Linked DNA regions of Homo sapiens: regions 1 and 2 are each linked to region 3. Evidence: promoter capture Hi-C in human tissues and cell types (Jung and others, 2019). All regions are on one chromosome and are shown on one strand. Each heading gives the region's core, a stretch centred on a gene start or on the middle of the fragment in contact. The rest is flanking DNA. Distances are from core to core; before and after follow the strand shown.

Region 1 (3,124 bases), core at 620-3,119, 360 kb after region 3:
GTGGAGGGGTCCTGGCCCCTGAGCCCCCAGCCTCCGCTTCCACCCTCAGAGAGGGCAGGGGCGTGGCAGCCCGGGATGTGCCCGCACTCTCACCGGTCTCAGGCTCTGGGGGGCGCTGCTGGGGTGAGGAGGCCGACAGTGGGGGTTTCTCTGCCTTGGCTTTGCTGGGCACCACCAGCTGGCCCAGTCCCCCAGTGAAGGAGCGGGCCTGAGGTCCAGGAGAGGTGGGGGGTGGACGGAGCCAGGAGGTGGGGCCCTGAGACAGGCCTGACGGTGGGGTGGGGGCGCCCAGGCCGAGGCTGGCCAGCTCCAACCTGGAATCCAAAGATCTGCCCCCGGCGCCCCCTGAGGCCCCTCGAATTCCCTCCAGGAGTCCGCCGAAGCTGTGGGGCTCCAGGTCTCGCTCATAAACATCCACACACGTCCAGCGACCGCGGCGATAAGGCTCTCCCAGGCCGTGGGGCAGCTTCACCACCCGGAAACGGGAGGAAGGGGCCCCAGGTGGTGGGGAGCCATTCCGGGGGGTGCCCTTGCCCCCCGGATCGGGGCTGGGCTCCCCATTGGGCAGGCGGGGCGGGGGCCCGGTTGGGGGCTGTGGGGTAGGGGGATCCGAAGCCCCTGGGCTCCCAGGGCCCTCATAGTCCGTGGTGACGCTGGTGATTTGGAAACTACTCTTCTTCTTGCCCCCGCTCATGGTCCCTGGGGCTCAGGGCTGGGCCAAGGTTGGGGGTGGGTTGGGGCTCCTTGAAGGGGCTCAGGCACCCCTGGAACAAGGGGGCCACATGGCGGGGACATCCGAGCCCCTGGGGACGTCTGGGTCCGACATGGCAGGAGGGCCTGGCGGGAACCGGGGGTGCCTGCTGGGTGAGGGGAGAAGAGGAGAGGGGAGGTGGCGGGAGGGGGGAGCAGGGGCAGGTTTTTCCTGCTGCTGTTGCTGCTGAACTCCAGAGCTGAGTTTGCAAACTGGAAAAAGAGGGGGAGAGAGAGAGAGAGAGAGAGAGAGAGAGTGTGTGTGTGTGTGTGTGTGTGTGTGTGTGTGTGTGTGTGTGTGTGTGTGAAACCAGTGGGCAGGCCACCTCCGGGGCTTCCTCTCCGGGGAGCAGAGTGGGGGAAGGGGAAACCGTCAGAGACCCAGAGACAGGCAAGAGATGACAGAGACCAGGGCAGAGGGGACTGGATCCAAGAAGGCACTCAGAGTAGAAAGAGGCAGATGAGTCCCAGAGTTGGGCATTTCTCGCCTGGGATTCTGACTCAGGGGGCCCGTATTGTCCCAAGAGCTCGGACTCCAGGGCCTGGGAGAACCAGGCTGAAGCAGCTCCCCAGCCTGGCCCGGCCACTCAGAGAGACCTCTCCTGGGCCTCGAGCCCCCACCCTCACCCCAGCTCCCACATCTCTGGGGCAGGCCCTGCCCGGCTACCCCCCAGCGCCCCACCCAGCCCTGAACCCTACCTCTGGGGCCTCGGCCACTGATCTGAGCCTGAGGGTCCCGGCGCCTAAGAGGTCGGGCTGTCCGTTCCCTGGGGCCTCCTGGCCATGGGCAGTGGCGGGGCACGCAGGCGGCGATCAGAGGCTGTCCCGTCCTCTCCGGGGGCCGCGGCTCATCCTGCCAGGCATCTCCGAGGAAAGTTTGCTCTCCGGAAAAGAAGAAACCCGCGCCTCCTCCGAGGAGCCTAGGAGCGGCCTCTGAAGCCCCAAGGGTCTGGAGACTGATGTGGGAGGGGGCGGCCGAGCCCCCCTCTGCTCCCGGTGGCAGCCAGCGAGTGGGTGTCCCGAGTCTCCTCCCGCGTGACCCTGCTGGGTCCGTGTCTCCGCTCCTCGGCTCCCCTGGGTCTCTGCCTCTCCGTCTTTCTCTTTCTGGGCTGTTGACAACCCCCACACCAGGAAGTCCTGCCTCCTCGGGCCTGCTGACTGCTCCTCTCCTCCTCCTCCTCCTCCTTCCCCTCTTCCTCCCCTTCCTCCTCCCTCCCTCCCTCCTGGGGCTTCCCGCCAGCTGGCCCGGGGCCAGGCCTGCCACAGCCGCTGCTGTTGCAGTTGCTGCAGCCACTGCTTAGGCTGCTGCTCCTGGGGGCCCCAAACAGACTCCCTTAACCCCACACCTGCCGGGCCCTAGCCCCACTCTTGCAGGGAGGGGCTGCAGGGGGCGGGGCTCGGGGAGAAAGGGGAGGAGCTTGCAGGGAGGCGAGGGATTCCCTTACTTGTAGTCAATTGCTGCCATTGGCCTAGAGACACACAGAAGAGACGGAAGGCACAGGCCGGGAGGTGTGCTGCATGCCCACCCAGAAGTTCCCAGTCCCTGCTGTGGGGCAGCTGTGGCTGTTACTGTCATTCTCCTTTGGTTTTCACAGCAACTGCATTATTCCCCCCATTCCTTATTTTTAAAAGTGGATTATTGCCGGATCCCGGTGGTGGCTCATGCCTGTAATCTCCGCACTTTGGGAGGTCGAGGAAGGAGGATCGCTTGAGACCAGTTTGGACAATATAATAGCAAGACCCCATCTCTACAAAAAATAAAAAAAAATAGCTGGGCATGGTGATGTGCACCTATAATTCCAGCTACTCAAAGGTGGGAGGATCGCTTGAGCCCAGGAGTTCGTGACCAGCCTGGGCAATATAACGAGATCCCCATCTCTACAAAAAATTTAAAAAATTAGCACTTTGGGAGGCCGAGGCGGGCGGATCACGAGGTCAAGAGATTAAGACCATCCTGGCCAACATGGTGAAACCAAGTCTCTACTTAAAATACAAAAATTAGCCAGGTGTGGTGGCGGGCACCTGTAGTCCCAGCTACTCGGGAGGCTGAGGCAGGAGAATCACTTCAACCTGGGAGGCGGAGGTTGCAGTGAGTCGAGATCACGCCACTGCACTCCAGCCTGGTGACAGAGTGAGACTCCATCTTAAAAAAAAAAAAAAACTGAGTGTGGTGATGTATACCTGTAGTCCCAGCTACTCAGGAGGCTGTGAGGCAGGAGGATCTCTTGAGCCCAGGAGGTTGAGGATGCAGTGAGCCAAGATTGTGCCACTGCACTCCAGCCTGGGCAACAGAGTGAGACCATGTCTCAAAAAAAAAAAAAAAGTGGATTATTATGAAAATTTTCAAACATGCCATGCAGACATGGGGAGACCA
Region 2 (3,288 bases), core at 292-2,791, 420 kb after region 3:
CAAGGCGGGAGGCTCACTTGAGGCCATGAGTTTGAGACCAGCCTGGCCAACATGGTGAAATCCTGTCTCTACTAAAAATACAAAAATTGGCCGGGCGCGGTGGCTCACGCCTGTAATCCCAGCACTTTGGGAGGCCAAGACCGGCGGATCACGAGGTCAGAAGATCGAGACCATCCTTGCTAACACGGTGAAACCCCGTCTCCACTGAAAATACAAAAAAATTAGCCAGGCGTGGTGGCGGGTGCCTGTAGTCCCAGCTACTCGGGAGGCTGAGGCAGGAGAATGGCGTGAACCCAGAAGGCGAAGCTTGCAGTGAGCCGAGATCGTGCCACTGCACTCCAGCCTGGGCGACAGAGCGAGACTCCATCTCAAATAATAATAATCATAATAATAAAAATACAAAAATTATCTGGGGGTGGTGGTGGCCGCCTGTAATCCCAGCTACTCAGGAGACTGAGGCATGAGAATTGCTTAAACCCAGGAGGCAGAGGTTGCAGTGAGCTGACATCGTGCCACTGCACTCCAGTCTGGGCAACAGAGTGAGACTCCATCTCAAAAAATTAAAATTAAATTAAAAAATTAAAAAAGTACCCAAAAAGTCTTTTCCAAGATGTGATTTTAATTCTCTGCGTAGGATTTATTACTAACTGGTGATTCTTTAATTTGTGTATTGTTTGCTTCCCCCTACTAGAAACTAAGCTCTATAAGAATATTTTGTTTGATTGCTTCGCTGCTGTATTCTATTCCCAGTGTCTAGAACGTGCCTGAAACCTAGCAGACACTCAGTGTTTGTTAAATGAATAATCGAATAATAGTCCACCTACTAGGAGGGTTAAAGGCAGGGTTTCTAAAGTTGGAAGACCCAGAGTGGAATCCTGGGCCACGCACTCGTGTGATCTGCCGCAAGTTGTTGAACCTAAGGGTGTAAAATGGGGATTCCACCTCTGGGATAGGCGGAGCGAATGAAATGACATTTATAAAGCACTCCCTTCGCTCTGTGGCTCAGGAATTAGAGCACTGGTCTAGTAAAGCACTCTTGCTCCCTCTCCCTCTCTCCCTTAAGCGCTCTCTTCTTTCCCCCTCCTGCTCAGCCCCTCACATGGCCACTTCTCTTCGGCTTTGCATGACACTCTACACAGTCTAGAGTAAGCCTTTGAAATTTGCCGGGAATTAACGTCATCAGTCGGGAGGACGACAGCTACGCACGCGCGGGGCACCTCCTCTGTCTCGCGCGCTAACTTTGCAGCCCCGCCAGCCAATCAAAATTAGCGTCGGAGCCCGAGTGCCGAGGACTCACCAATCGGAACTAGGAGGCGGGCCACGGTGGAGGCAGCGGCGAGAGGGGGCGGGGACAAGGAGAGGGCACGCACGGTTCTCGCTGCTGGGGTCTCTGCCGGCCAATAGGAGAGGCCTGAGGCCTGAAGGCGGTGGGGCGGGGCATTGGCGGCTCCAGCAACCGGAGGCCGTCCCAGGGAGGGCCAATCGGAGTAAGGAGGTGGGAGAAACCTAGCCAATCAGTGTGCAGGACGGGCAAGGAGGGTGGTGGACGGCGAAGTCTCCTGCGGATGCCGCCCGCTCCCGAGCTTCTGTCAGGGGAGCCGGGCGTGCGGAGGCGGCTGAGGAGGCGGGAAGGCGGCAGTGGTTGAAGGGGTGATTGCTGACTAGCGGGGAGGGAGTGGGCAGCGATGGTGATGGCGGCGAAGAAGGGCCCGGGCCCGGGCGGCGGGGTCAGCGGGGGCAAGGCGGAGGCGGAGGCGGCCTCGGAGGTGTGGTGCCGTCGGGTGCGGGAGCTGGGTGGCTGCAGCCAGGCCGGGAACCGCCACTGCTTCGAGTGCGCCCAGCGCGGGGTCACCTACGTGGATATCACCGTGGGCAGCTTCGTGTGCACCACCTGCTCCGGCCTCCTGTGAGTGACCGGGAGGGAGTGGCCGAGGTCGGCGTGGGGGGACCCGGGGGCGGGGTGGGGAGGCCGGGGCTCCGGGGCGCGAGGGAAGGGGGCCGAGGTGAGGGGCGGAGGGGAGGTCAGGGAACGCGCCGGCTGTGGGGACGGGGTCGTCTGCTGCAGCGGTGTGGTGGGGAGGGGAAAGGGCAGGGGAGAGGAAGCAAGGCCGGAGTCGCTCTGCGGAGAGAAGGGTACGGGTGCAGAAAGACGCCCGGAGAGGGACCGAGAAACTCCCCGAGGGGGTCGAGGCAAACTGCAAGTGGGGAGGGAGAAAGTGCGGAGGATGGAAGGGAACTCGGAGTGGGATGGGGTGTCGGGACTTAAAGGGCCAGAAAATGACATGCACCTTTAGAGGGAACTTCATGCAGGTGGAAAGCAAAAAGGAAAAAGGTGGGGAAAGCCGGCCTGGAGATGGACGGGCACCTTTCTTCCTTCGGGCTTGTGTCCCTGCTGGAGTGTGAGATGCAGAAGCCAGCTGAAACTTGGTTGAAATTCCTATGATTAGAGTACAGGATTAAAAAAAAAAAAAAAAGCGAATTAACCCCGATTGACAGCCTAGAGATAGTGGCTGGAAGGGAGCCATGGTCCAGAGTTCAGGTGTAGATACTAATCTTAGCAGGGCTTTGAAATGTTACCCAGAAGGTAAAACTCTTACGAAATCTAAGAGATGAGAGCCAATGGGTTACCCTGGTAGAGAGCTTAGCTTTTTCAAACGTTTGCACGTCTAGGTGAGCCATCCTGAAGGTTAATCATTTACACCTTTAAGATCCCTGTTGCCATGACTGGATCCTGGTGGTAGCATCCAGGAAACTCTAGATTTTGGGGGGGCTTTGGTGCATCATCTGAGTGCTACTCTTGGCATTGGTACTGTTCGGTCATGCCAGAGTGAATTTACAGCCACAATTCTAGCCTAGATTTCTGGTTATATAGTAAAGCCCCCTCCACTCCCCTCTGCACTCCTCCTACTCCCAAATTAAGATATTATTTGGTTAGATGCATGATTAACATCTGATATCAGGCCTGGATCTCTGTTTTTTAATAAGTTTGTCAAGGGATTTATTTTGACAATTTTTTAGTCTTATTTTAAGACACTGTTGTTTTTGTTTTGTTTTTTAAAAAATGCTTTCCAGCCAGGCGCTGTGGCTCACGCCTGTAATCCTAGCACTTTGGGAGGCCGAGGCAGGCAGATCATGAGGTCAAGAGATCGAGACCATCCTGGCCAACATGGTGAAACCCCATCTCTACTAAAAATACAAAAATTACCTGGGTGTGGTGGCGCGCACCTGTACTCCCAGCTACTTGGGAGGCTGAGGCAGGAGAATCACTTGAACCCGGGAGGTGGAGGT
Region 3 (3,232 bases), core at 17-2,516:
GGCTCACGCCTGTAATTTGGGAGGCCAAGGCGGGAAGATCACCTGAGGTTAGGAGTTCGAGACCACCCTGGCCAACATGGTGAAACCCTGTCTTTTTGTAAAAACACAAAAATTAACCAGACATGGTGGCGGGCGCCTGTAGTCCCAGCTATCTGGGAGGCTGAGGTGGGAGAACCGCTTGAACCAGGAAGCGGAGGTTGCAGTGAACCGAGATCGTGCCACTGCACTCCAGCCTGGGCGATAGAGAGAGACTCCATCTCAAAAAAAAAAAAAAAGCAAATTGGAGCCAAGAGAGGTAACTCACCCCAGTAATCCCAGCACTTTGGAAGGCAGAGGTGGGGGGATTGTTTGAGGCCAGGAGTTTGAGACAGCCTGGTCAACATAGTGAGACCCCCATTTCTGCAAAAATTAAAAAATTAGACGGACCTGGTGGTGTGAACCTGTCATCCCAGCTACTTAGGAGGCTGAGGCAGGAGGATCGCTTGAACTGAGGAGTTGGAGGCTGCAGTGAGCCAAGATGGTGCCACTGCACAACAGCCTGGGTAACAGACGGAAACCCTGTCTCAAAAAAAAAACAAAAAAAAATTAAAGTGGCACACTTGCAGTTGGACATTAGGAAGATTAACATATCAATACTGCTTAGGAGTAGTACAGGTAGGGTGGGGCCGTGCTGGAAGGATGGGAAGAGGGAGGCCGAAAAACAAATTGGTTCTTTTCAAACCATCCCTGATCTCCTCCCCGACTTTTATAAGTCTTATCTATAGGGAACACAACTATTCGAGACATACTCTGTGCCTGGCGCCGGGTTTACAAGAGGGGGTCGTGTCCCACTTCCCTGGCGAACTCCTACGAATCCTTCAATACCCGGCGGTACCCTCTGCCAGTAAAGGCTCATAAAACACGCTACAGTCACAGGATCTCCTCAGATCAGTGGAGGCGGCAGGAAGGCGTCCCAGGGAAGGGTTAACTTAAGCGAGATCCCAGCAGAGAAGCAGGTCGAAGATCCCCGGGCAGCGCGAAAGGAGGTTCAGAGAGCCCACCCCATCTCCTGCAACATCTCTCCAATGCAGGCACACACACGGGGTCCCCACGAGCACAGACACACAACCAACCGTCCTCTTTCCAGTCCCCACAAGGGACCTTCAAAGGGTCTCCTCCGGGGTACCACTCAGACCCGCCCCCGCCACCCGAGCGCGGGGAGCAGGAAAACTCTAGCGGCAGCCGAGACGCTGCTCACCCGGCGCTCGGCGCCATCTTGGCCCCGCCCCCTCGTGGGAGCAGGTCCTGGCAGAGCCTAAGAGCAAGTCACTGCCCCTTCCCCGTACCAGAATAAGTCCTCTAGGCTCGCAGAATGAAATTATATTTTAAAAGTTTGTTTCTACATCTATATATAAGGAGCACTCCCTCTTGGTGTAATTACTGCAATTTATTCCTTCACTACCCGGCTGCCAGGACCTTCAAGAGGCGCCACAAAACGGAGGCAGGGAAACCCGTAGCAACGAGGCCCCACCCTTGTTGGGCTGATCCTGCGCATGCGCCGACCTTCCTCGGCTGGATTTAAGGTTGCCGCTAGCCGCCTGGGAATTTAAGGGACCCACACTACCTTCCCGAAGTTGAAGGCAAGCGGTGATTGTTTGTAGACGGCGCTTTGTCATGGGACCTGTGCGGTTGGGAATATTGCTTTTCCTTTTTTTGGCCGTGCACGAGGCTTGGGCTGGGATGTTGAAGGAGGAGGACGATGACACAGAACGCTTGCCCAGCAAATGCGAAGGTATTTGAAGGGGGTAGCCCCTATAGGCATCGCCCGGCCACACCTCCTTCTTCTAGGCCGGACATCCTAGCCTGTATTGGGTGGGTCACCCGACCTCCTTGAAGGCTTGAGGGAGGTTCTGGTGGAGCTTGGCTGAATTTGGATGGGGTCAAGGAAGCGAACGTGTAGTGCCACCTCAAACTGCATCCAGAGAGAGCCTGCATTTTTTTGGCTGGCTTGGAACCCCCCGCCCGCCAATGGATTGTGGGAATTGTAGTTCAGGGACCATCGGCCCGGGACTGCCAACTTTTAGAGCATCTTCAGTGAGTGTTTACCTCATGTCACCAGACCTTAATCTGCAGAGGCTGCAGGAGCCGGGTGTGAGGCTCAGGCCTTGTGGACATCCGCTGCCCTACCCTAGCATAGACGCTCCCAAATTACAGGCCCCACACCCCGCTGAGGGGGTTTGAGGGTGAGTAATTCAGCCTTTGAAGCTCATAAACAAAAGGAAGCCACACAACTAGGAGAGTGTCCCCATCCGGTGAGACTTTGCAGACGGTGCGTACTATATGGATTTTTCAGCAAGCAGCGCCTTCCATAGCTGCACTAGCGTGGGGCCCAGTTGAGAAAGGGGGCTGGCCCTGATGCCCTAGTTTGCTGCCCTCCTGACTTTACGTTTCTTCCCTGGATTCCTTTTCTCTTCGCTTCACCCCCTCAACTGTATTCCAGTATCATGAAAGGCAGTCATGACAGTCTCATGACTTGGTCCTCATCTCTGTCTCCTTTCACCTCCGTGTGCCGCTCTTCTCCCCTGACCTGTCAATCTTTTTAAACAGACTTAATCACCTAATTGTATCAGTCCTTGCTTTAACACCTCTGCAGGCCTTCTATCAGAATACAGCCAACGGGCCTGGGCACAGTGGCTCACATCTGTAATCCCAGCACTTTGGAAGGCCAAGGTGGGAGGATCACTTGAGCCCATGAGTTCAGGCCCAGCTTCACCACAGCTTGTCATCCTTGGTTTATCTGTCCCAACTACACTGACAGAGACCTGTAGATAGAGATAATAGGTCTTATTGCTGTCTATATTGTTAGTATGCATACAGAAGGAGCTCAATAAATAACTGCAGGATAACAGTGAATACTTATACAGTGCTCACTATGTGCCAGCCTTTATATATGTTGATTTATTTAATCTTCATCACACTCCTATGAGGGACATACTATTATTATCCAATTGTATTAATTTTATATATATATATATATATATATATATTTTTTTTTTTTTTTTTTTTTTTTTTTTTTTTTTCTCTTTTCAGACAGCGTCTCATGCCGTTGCCCAGGCTGGAGTGCAGTGGTGCAATCTCGCTCACTGCAACCTCCGCCTCCCGGGTTCAAGCGATTCTCCTGCCTCAGCCTCCCAAGTAGCTGGGATTACAGGCGCCCGCCACCATGCCCAGCTAATTTTTGTATTTTTAGTAG

What was found. Contacts are between HindIII fragments. The study calls those that stand out against the background at their distance.
Region 1: a contact is called between the fragment with the promoter of TSC22D4 here and the fragment with the promoter of TAF6 in region 3, in 1 of the 25 tissues and cell types used here (bladder).
Region 2: the fragment with the promoter of AGFG2 here is called in contact with the fragment with the promoter of TAF6 in region 3 in 1 of the 25 tissues and cell types used here (aorta).

The regions. Positions count from the first base shown.
Region 1 is chr7:100,477,345-100,480,468 of GRCh38, forward strand. It overlaps TSC22D4 (TSC22 domain family member 4), which reads right to left and starts at 1,870. Exons shown (of 5, transcript NM_030935.5): 1 at 1,450-1,870; 2 at 1-963. The coding sequence starts at 694. TSC22D4-C7ORF61 (TSC22D4-C7orf61 readthrough) reads right to left here and starts at 1,870. Exons shown (of 6, transcript NM_001395846.1): 1 at 1,450-1,870; 2 at 1-963. The coding sequence starts at 694. RefSeq lists enhancers at 1,506-1,575, 2,276-2,385 and a silencer at 2,026-2,185. The HindIII fragment of the contact is 44,126 bases long and covers 1-3,124 here.
Region 2 is chr7:100,537,662-100,540,949 of GRCh38, forward strand. AGFG2 (ArfGAP with FG repeats 2) reads left to right here and starts at 1,542. Exons shown (of 12, transcript NM_006076.5): 1 at 1,542-1,906. The coding sequence starts at 1,686. RefSeq lists an enhancer at 892-1,393 and silencers at 1,273-1,552, 1,603-1,902. The HindIII fragment of the contact is 17,077 bases long and covers 1-3,288 here.
Region 3 is chr7:100,118,092-100,121,323 of GRCh38, forward strand. It overlaps TAF6 (TATA-box binding protein associated factor 6), which reads right to left and starts at 1,267. Exons shown (of 15, transcript NM_139315.3): 1 at 1,113-1,267. It overlaps CNPY4 (canopy FGF signaling regulator 4), which reads left to right and starts at 1,543. Exons shown (of 6, transcript NM_152755.2): 1 at 1,543-1,771. The coding sequence starts at 1,654. RefSeq lists enhancers at 1,220-1,369, 1,580-1,799, 2,170-2,239. The HindIII fragment of the contact is 13,440 bases long and covers 1-3,232 here.